2 separate regions of the Homo sapiens genome follow, and region 2 is linked to region 1. Evidence: promoter capture Hi-C in 16 types of primary human blood cells and fetal thymus (Javierre and others, 2016). All regions are on one chromosome and are shown on one strand. Each heading gives the region's core, a stretch centred on a gene start or on the middle of the fragment in contact. The rest is flanking DNA. Distances are from core to core; before and after follow the strand shown. Region 1 holds the start of GATAD2B (GATA zinc finger domain containing 2B). Region 2 overlaps TPM3 (tropomyosin 3).

Region 1 (3,930 bases), core at 682-3,181:
ACCTCCAGAAGTGGCCTCCTTCCCAACTAAGTACTGACAGAAATACTACTCTAGGACAATACTTGAAAGGCTGCTCCAGCACCAAAATAAGAATCCAAGTTATCAGACTGCAAGGAAGAGTTCAGGTCAGCATACCAAATGAAAAGCAATAAAGTTAGCACTAAACTCCCAAACAGGATAATCACCAACAACATATAGGCACCATGCTGCTGCCAGAAAACATCAAAGTCATCTGTGCTAGGAGGGGAAGGAGACTAGATGGCTGGAGGACAGAGATGGGAAGGAAGCTTACTTTTCACTTTGTACAACCACATGCATGCTTTTCTACTCAAAATATAAATTTTTAGAAAAAATGTCCTAAAAACTACAAAAGCATCAGCTCTTCTCCAACACAGATCTGTTAAACCTGTTTTAATTCCATCAGCTACAAATCCAAATCCCTCTTTTGCAGTCTGGCCTGAAAACACTGCTCTTGCCCTTTGCTGAAATATATTAAGTATCCTTCGCCTCTGCTGAAATGTATTAAGTATCCCCCCATCTCTCTCTCTCTCTTACACACACACACACGCACACACACACGCCCCCCAAATAAGCATTTATCAGAAATGAGAAAACTGGTTCTCAGGAGGCTACCTGATTTTCCAGGGGACAACAGAGAAAAGGTTGCTAGCTAGCTCAGTTAGCATCCACATGCCACCCACCACCAAGCCTCCATCTCCACCTCACTGCCAGCCCTATGAGCTAACATCTTGTGTTTGGAAGTTGATGCTGGGGAAGAATCCAAAGAGGCTACCATACCTTTATGAAACGGGAAAGCTGTACCGGGCGCGCGAATGGCACCTGAACCTCTGCACTCGCATGAGTGGCTCGCTCCTCAATGTAATTGAGAGCAGGGAGGCCAAAAGTACTCTAAGTCCCGGTGTGGTTAGGGAAGGGTAAGTTCCACCGACCCTCAGGAACTGAACTGGAAGACAGATCCAGTGTGTCCCACAAGCCCAGTCGCTGTAGAAGCTAAGTGCCCACATAGCCTGAGACAATTCTCTTCCCCTACGGGAGGGCGAGCGAACGGTGGACGACGAAATAAAGGGGTAAGGTTATGCGCTCCTGATCCCTTTCCCTAAATAAAGATAATTATCTGGTGCTTCCTTTACCCTTAGATTCCCCATTCGTCCCATCCGCCCGCAAACACAAGACTGAGCAGGGAGCGGCCCCCGCACCCTGAGGGCACCACTGGGGGTGGAGAGAGTTAAAAAAAAAAAGGGGGGGGCGCGCTAGAGAGGAAAGGAGGGGAGCATGGCGGGCATGAGGCAGGGAGTGAAAGCGGGGATGGCGGGGGAAACGGGGCGTGAGGGAGGGGAGAAAGAGTACAAGGAGACGAAATGAAGGGACACGAGCTGGGGGCGCGCGAGGCCGAAGTGAAAGACCGGGTCGCGCGCGCCAAGGGGGGAGAGGATGAGGTGAAGAAGGAGCGCGAGGCGGGGGCGCGCCGTGCCGGGGTGGGGGGAGGGGGACGCAAGGCGGGGGCGCGCGGGCGGGCGTCGGCTCGCGGGCGCTTCCCCTCCCCCCGCCCCTCCACCTTTCCCTTCCCCCACCTCCGCCACCACTGCCTCCTCCCAGCCTCCTTCCCTTCCTCGCTCCTCACCGCCCCCGGGCGGGCGGGCGGCCAGGCTGGCCTAGGCCAAAGCTCCTCACCTGGCGGTGGCGGTGTAACTCCCGGCTAGCTCGCCTCCTCAGGCGGCGGCGGAGGCGTCGAAAAAGGAAGAGGCGACGGCACAGGGGATCCAGACCCTGCTGACGGGACTAGGGACGGGGGTAGGGGAGGGGGGCGGGCCGGACCGGGGCGGGCGGGCGGAGCAGACACTGCGGTACAGACGGGGGCAGCGGCGGCGGCGACGGCTGCACCGGCGGCGGCGGCACCACACAAACAAGGACGCTGATTGGGCAGCTGCCAAGCGCCTCGGCTCCGCCTTACCCACACGCCACGACGCCCATTGGGCGACCTAAGCCGGCCACCCCGCCCTCATCTTCTCGGCCATGCCAGTAGAAGACTAGATGCCGGGACTTCACCCCACCCTTGAAGAATGAGTGGCCGGAGAAGTGATGATTGGCGTGCTTAAAACCCAATCATAAACGGAGGAGGGGGGATGGTCTAGCGGGGGCGCGTTAATGGGTACCTCTGCCAGTCCCAGACACATCCGGGTCTTCGACAGCCCATTAAGTGTCGGGGGTCAAAAAATCGCTTCAGGCTGCAACTTTACCTTAGAGACGTTTTGGTCCCCAGGCAGCCGCCGTACCCCAGTCTCTCCAAACCGGGATTCCCCTTTGGCCATCTCTCATTCTTTCAATTCTAAAGATGGAGACTGGCGAACGGCGATGGGGTCTGCGGTGGGCGGTGTTTCGTCGCGACAGACTCTAGGAAATTTCACGATAGAACTAGCTTTAGGCGCTTGAGCCTTGCCGTCTTTTTGGGGTGTGGCCTGTCTCCGTCTGCCAAAGGCTTTGAGCTTCCTGGTGTTCATCGTACCTCCGCTTGGTCCTGTCGTGACTAAACCACGACAGCAGGAAAAAAAAAAAAGCAGCTAGCCAAGTTGCTGAGGAATTACGGTGTGCAGAGCCCTCGCAGCTCCTTCTCTTGGGAACTCCTGGTCTGGTTAGGTTCTCAGCGAGGAAACAGCCTCCCACCCCGCCCGATTCCACCTAATTAACTCAAGGGCCAGCTCCTTTTGCTGGCCTCCCTGCTTCCACGGAGCAGTTAGGCCCGCCTAAACTCAGCGAGCGTTTCTGGAGCACCTTGAGGATAGGGACCAAGTAACAGAGTCCGGGTGTTAAGGTTATGATAGTAGTTAACGTTTTTGGAAAGAGACTGTGTCAGGCTCTGTGCTAAGAACTTTACATGAAGTATTTATTCCTCATGACTGTGAGGTAGGTACTGTTATCCCTACTTTACAAATGAGGAAAATTAGGATCAAAAAATTTGTCCAGTTACACGTTAAGTGGTAGAGCTGAAATTTGAACCCAAGTAGATGAGGAAACTAAGGCTCAGAGAGGTTAAGTAACTTGCCAAAGGTCAGACCGCTAGTTAGTGACTAAGCAGTGGTTTAAACCCAGAAACAACTGGTTCCACAGGCATTTTGTTATTGTTGTTTTCTCACTGTGTCTCCCAGGCTGGAGTGCAGTGGTACAATCTCAGTTCCTGCAACCTCCGCCTCCCAGGTTCAAACGATCCTCCTGCCTCAACAGCCTCCCGAGTAGCTGGGATTACAGGCGCGCGGCTAATTTTTGTGTTTTTAGTAGAGACGGGGTTTCGCCATGTTGGCCAGGCTGGTCTCGAACTCCTGACCTCAGGTGATCCTCCTGCCTCAGCCTCCCAAAGTGCTGGGATTACAGGTGTGTGAGCCACCACGCCAGCCTCCACAGGTATTTGAACATGTTTTTTAAATTATTTAAAAGTCATGCTGTGCAATGGAAATGAAATTATAATGGAGGACATGGCAACTTAAAGCCGTAGGTAGATCCTACACAAACACAGACGCACCCATTTTTTTTTTCTTTTTTTTCTTTGAGACAGTCTCCCTCTGTCGCCCAGGCTGGAGTGCAGTGGCGTGATCTCAGCTGCCTGCAATCTCCACCACCCAGGCTCAAGCCATCTTTCCACCTCAGCCTCCCAAGTAGCTGGCATTACAGGCGCACGTGACCACGCCCGGCTGATTTTTGTATTTTTGGTAAAGACAGGGTTTCACTATGTTTCCCAGGCTGGTCTCATAAATTCCTGGCCTCAAGTGATCCACCCGCCTTGGCGTCCCAAAGTGGTGGGATTACAGGCGTGAACAACCGCGCCCACCGCAGCCCCCACTTTATTTATTTTTTAAATTAGCGATGAGGTCTTGCTATGTTACCCAGGCTGCTCTGAAACTCCTGGGCTCAAGAGAT
Region 2 (3,930 bases), core at 824-3,323, 260 kb after region 1:
CCCCCTGGCCTCCATCTCACAATGAAGTATATAGGTTAGAGTCCAAGTAAACCCATCCTGGATGGGTTTTCTCTAAGAAACAAGGAAAGAAGGAGGCAGCCTGCAGGTGGATGGATAAATTCTAATGGTAGGAAAACCTCTTTCCATGACTGCCTCCCCGCTACCTTTACTGGTGGGAGGTACCCTGACTGCAACAGTATACAAGAATTTAATATGCCCCGCACACCACCCAGTTCAGATGCTTATCCAAGTGCCTGGTAAACACGATCTCTCTTCTATAGCCCAGATTGTGCCTGAATTCTATTACCCTGATTTCTTCCTGGCAGGCAGGAGTTGGTGCAGCTATAGAAACAGCCTGGGCCACTAGCTCCGATGAGGAAGAATATAGACCAAAAGACTCCTTTTTAACCATCAGGACTGGCACAAAAACTTCCACATACAAACATGAGAAGCTGAAGAGACTAGGAAGGGAAGCAGAGGGCTGGGGCTACAATCTAGCCACCAGGCAAAGAAAATCGAGAAGTCAACATAAGCTGAAATCATTAAGAAACCATTTGTGCCTCTAACTACACTACTCAAAACACCACAAAGACAAGTATTCTCTGCTTCTGCCTCTTCCAGAAAAATAGATGTTCTCTGTAACAACACACATTTCTCCTCACAAACCCAACAAGGCCATGGATCAAGAGCAAGTCAGGCTATCAGGCAAGACCTAGGAGACACTGCTAGTAAAATGACTTACCCCCCTCAGACGAAAAATACAACTAGATTTAGAGGAAGCTCATGAAATGTAAGACATCATGCAGCTCACCAGTAGTTACCCAAACTGGAGTAGAAGATAACAGGCTATGGGGCGGGGGTGTACAGTTGCCATGACAGCAAGCTGGCTCAGGCAGTTTCTCCCACAAATCAGCATTTACAATAGAATTCTTAGCAAGGCTGAAAAGGGAGAGGGGGAAAACACATCTTGGTGCCCTCCTAAGAGCATGCACACATGAACAAGCCTGTATCAAAAGCAGAACCTGAGATGGGAGTCCTAGAAAAAGCTTCAGAGACCCCCTCCAGGGTGGAGTGGTAGGGAATGGGACCTTGCCTTTCTCTTTTCTCCTAGCACAGAGGATCAGTTCTCTTTACAATGAAACAAAAGCCTGCAGAATCAAGATCTGATACTTTGTTTAAAGGAACAAGGAAGACAAGCTGACTTTTCCCTCATGAGTCTATGCACAGTGCCTGTCCCTTTCAGGTCAAATAATACCAATGGGTACCAAGAGATTGAACAGGCCTACTTTTTGCAGACCAGGCTACCTGTGGCCCTGGGAAACGTTAAGCTCTGCACTTTCCTAATCATCTTAGGTTTTAGCATGCCCATCCAGATGCGGTTTTGGTGTTTCAGCTGACCTATCTCTGCCCAGTGTGGAGGATATACAGTACTCTGTGGTTCTTCCCTTCAAGTAATAATAGGATTCTCCACTGCCCAGGAAGCAAAGATCCTGGGTGAGGGATTGGGGAAAGAGTAGAATGCCCCAGCAACTCAGTCACATTACCAGATGGCTGACAACACCTTCGGCTATCCTCCACTCCAAAGAGATTTCCCAAATATGTCAACCCCTCCAGGCAAGAAACTGACAGTGTGATGGTACTCTCAGGCAGAACAGGGCCAAGGACAGAAGGGGATTAGCCTAAATCTGGCTTTCTGCCACACTGGGGTTTCTCTTATTAGATAAAAGCCACAGATAAAATTCAAATGAAAGAGTATCAGAAAGTTAGGCTTGAGCCCTGTGAGTAAAGGACTATTTGAGTTCACTGTGCTCACAAATGCATTACCCAGGGAGATACCGTGTCCTTGGGGAATTTAAACTTCACCAAAGGGGAGGCAAGTTGGAAGGGAGTAGAGCTATCTGCCCCACAGTAAACAAAGGCGGAGCCTAAGCAGGGGTAAAGGGCTATCTGCCTCTCCCCTGTGAGTGTGTGTTCTAGTACTGGGGAAAGAGAAAGGAAAGCAAAGCAACCAAAGAAAGGTTGCTTAGTCCACCAGGCCCACGAATAGAAGAGAACCACACAACAGTCAAGCATTCTAACCTCTCCAGAGACTAGGAATTTAGGATTAAGGCCAGAATCAAAGCCCACTCCCTCGGTAGTACTCTTAAGGTTTTTGTTATTACTTTTTTTTTTCTTTTTGAGGCAGAGGTAGTGTGCTGACCTTACACTCCCGCAGTTGACCCCTCACTCCCCCAGTGCCGATACTCGCCCAGGCTGGAGTACAGTGGCATGATCCAATCCTGGTTCACTGCCACCTCCGCCTCCAGGGTTGAAGCAATTCTTGTGCCTCAGCCTCCCAAGTAGCTGGGATTACAGGCATGCGCCACCATGCCCAGCTAATTTTTTGTATTTTTAGTAGAGATGGGGTTTCATCAGATCCACAGGTGGACCTCAGATCCACCCGCCTAGGCCTCCCAAAGGGCTGGGATTACAGGTGTGAGCCACCGCACCCAGCCTCTTAAGTTTTTTAGACTAGAAAAAAATTAAAAAGAGAAAAATATCAGGGACAATTAGGAGAGAGTTATTAAAAACAGATAAGGTGAACTGTACATTTATAAATGGTTAAAATGGTAAATTTTACATGTATTTTTATCACCACTACCACAAAAAAAAAGAGATAAGGAAAAAGACTGCATTTAAACATTATGTTGCCATCTGTTTCCATTTAGACAGAAGTAAAAAGGAAATACAGAACTGAAAGTAAATTTGACAAGGTGCTACATTATAAAAGACCAATTTCCAGGCCGAGAGCAGAAAAGAAAGATGGATCCTAGAACACCAGTGTCTCAGTTTTAGACTCATCTAGCTTCCCAACAAGGGTGGCTTGGATGTTCACACAAAGTAACCAGGAAAATAATTAAGTGACAATCCCACTAACAGCATGAGATACCATCAGAGAGTGCAGTTTCCCGCTCCAGAGGAGGGAGGAGTCTGCAAAACCCACATTCCAGAATGCCTTAAGAGGATAACAGGTAGCCCAAGCAACCCCCCTCCCTTCCCACAGGTGTCTCCTCCTCAGTAGGGGTTCAAAGTTCAGCAGAGCAGCAGAAAGTCAAAAGATTAAGCTTCTTCAGGCTGGGGAGTAGAAGAAATGATTTCATCAATATTTAACTATAACTCTACTTCCCCATTCTGAGGACTTCCTCACTAGACCTCAGCTCAATAAGCAAATTTGGCAGGCTCTGAGTGAAAGTAGCTTAAGAAACATCACCCCAGGACAGGCGCAGTGGCTCATGCCTGTAATCTCAGCACTTTGGGAGGCTGAGGCAGGCAGATCACTTGAGGTCAGGAGTTTGAAACCAGCCTGGCCAACATGGTGAAACCCCATCTCTACTAAAAATAAAAAAATAAAATAATAAAAAAAAATCGCCGAGTGTGGTGGTGGATGCCTGTAATCCCAGCCACTCAGGAGGCTAAGGCAGGAGAATCACTTGAGCCTGGGAGGTGGAGGTTGCAGTGAGCAGAGATCGTGCAACTGCATTCCAGGCTGGGCTACAGAGCAAGTCTCCATCTAAAAAAAAAAAGAGGGGGGATGGGAGGCAGGAATCACCCACCTTAGAACTACTCCTAGAATGTCCATATTTAAATACTGAGCCTAAGATTCTGCAGCTCAACACATGGCCAGTTCCTCTGTCTTCCCCTTTAAAGCTATCTGGTCTCCAGAACAAAGGAGATGAGAAAGTGCCACTGGCCATAAAGAGTCACCCAGCCAGTCCATCTCACTTGCACAGATAATAAGAAGTTGTTGGCAAACTGAACAGAGGAAAAAAATCTACCTAGAAAAAGGTGTCTGAGGAAGACAACAAGCTCCCATCCCAGCATCTCCATGACCACTTATAAAAATAAGTGAGTATTCCAACAATCTTTAAGTATTTAAACTGGAGGGCAGCT

Evidence for each region. Contacts are between HindIII fragments. The CHiCAGO score rates a contact against its expected background, and 5 or more counts as called.
Region 2: a fragment that was not itself captured here is called in contact with the fragment with the promoter of GATAD2B in region 1 in 5 of 17 cell types (M1 macrophages, M0 macrophages, fetal thymus and 2 more); the score reaches 8.8 in M1 macrophages.

What each region holds. Positions count from the first base shown.
Region 1 is chr1:153,921,041-153,924,970 of GRCh38, forward strand. It overlaps GATAD2B (GATA zinc finger domain containing 2B), which reads right to left and starts at 1,932. Exons shown (of 11, transcript NM_020699.4): 1 at 1,693-1,932. It overlaps LOC101928059 (a long non-coding RNA gene), which reads left to right and starts at 2,333. Exons shown (of 4, transcript XR_922160.3): 1 at 2,333-2,922. RefSeq lists silencers at 1,716-2,035, 2,713-3,007 and an enhancer at 2,166-2,405. The HindIII fragment of the contact is 8,959 bases long and covers 286-3,930 here.
Region 2 is chr1:154,177,372-154,181,301 of GRCh38, forward strand. The region is part of intron 2 of TPM3 (tropomyosin 3); the gene reads right to left. Among named protein-coding and RNA genes, the nearest start is that of TPM3, 13 kb to the right of the region's middle. RefSeq lists an enhancer at 2,822-3,818. The HindIII fragment of the contact is 2,058 bases long and covers 1,045-3,102 here.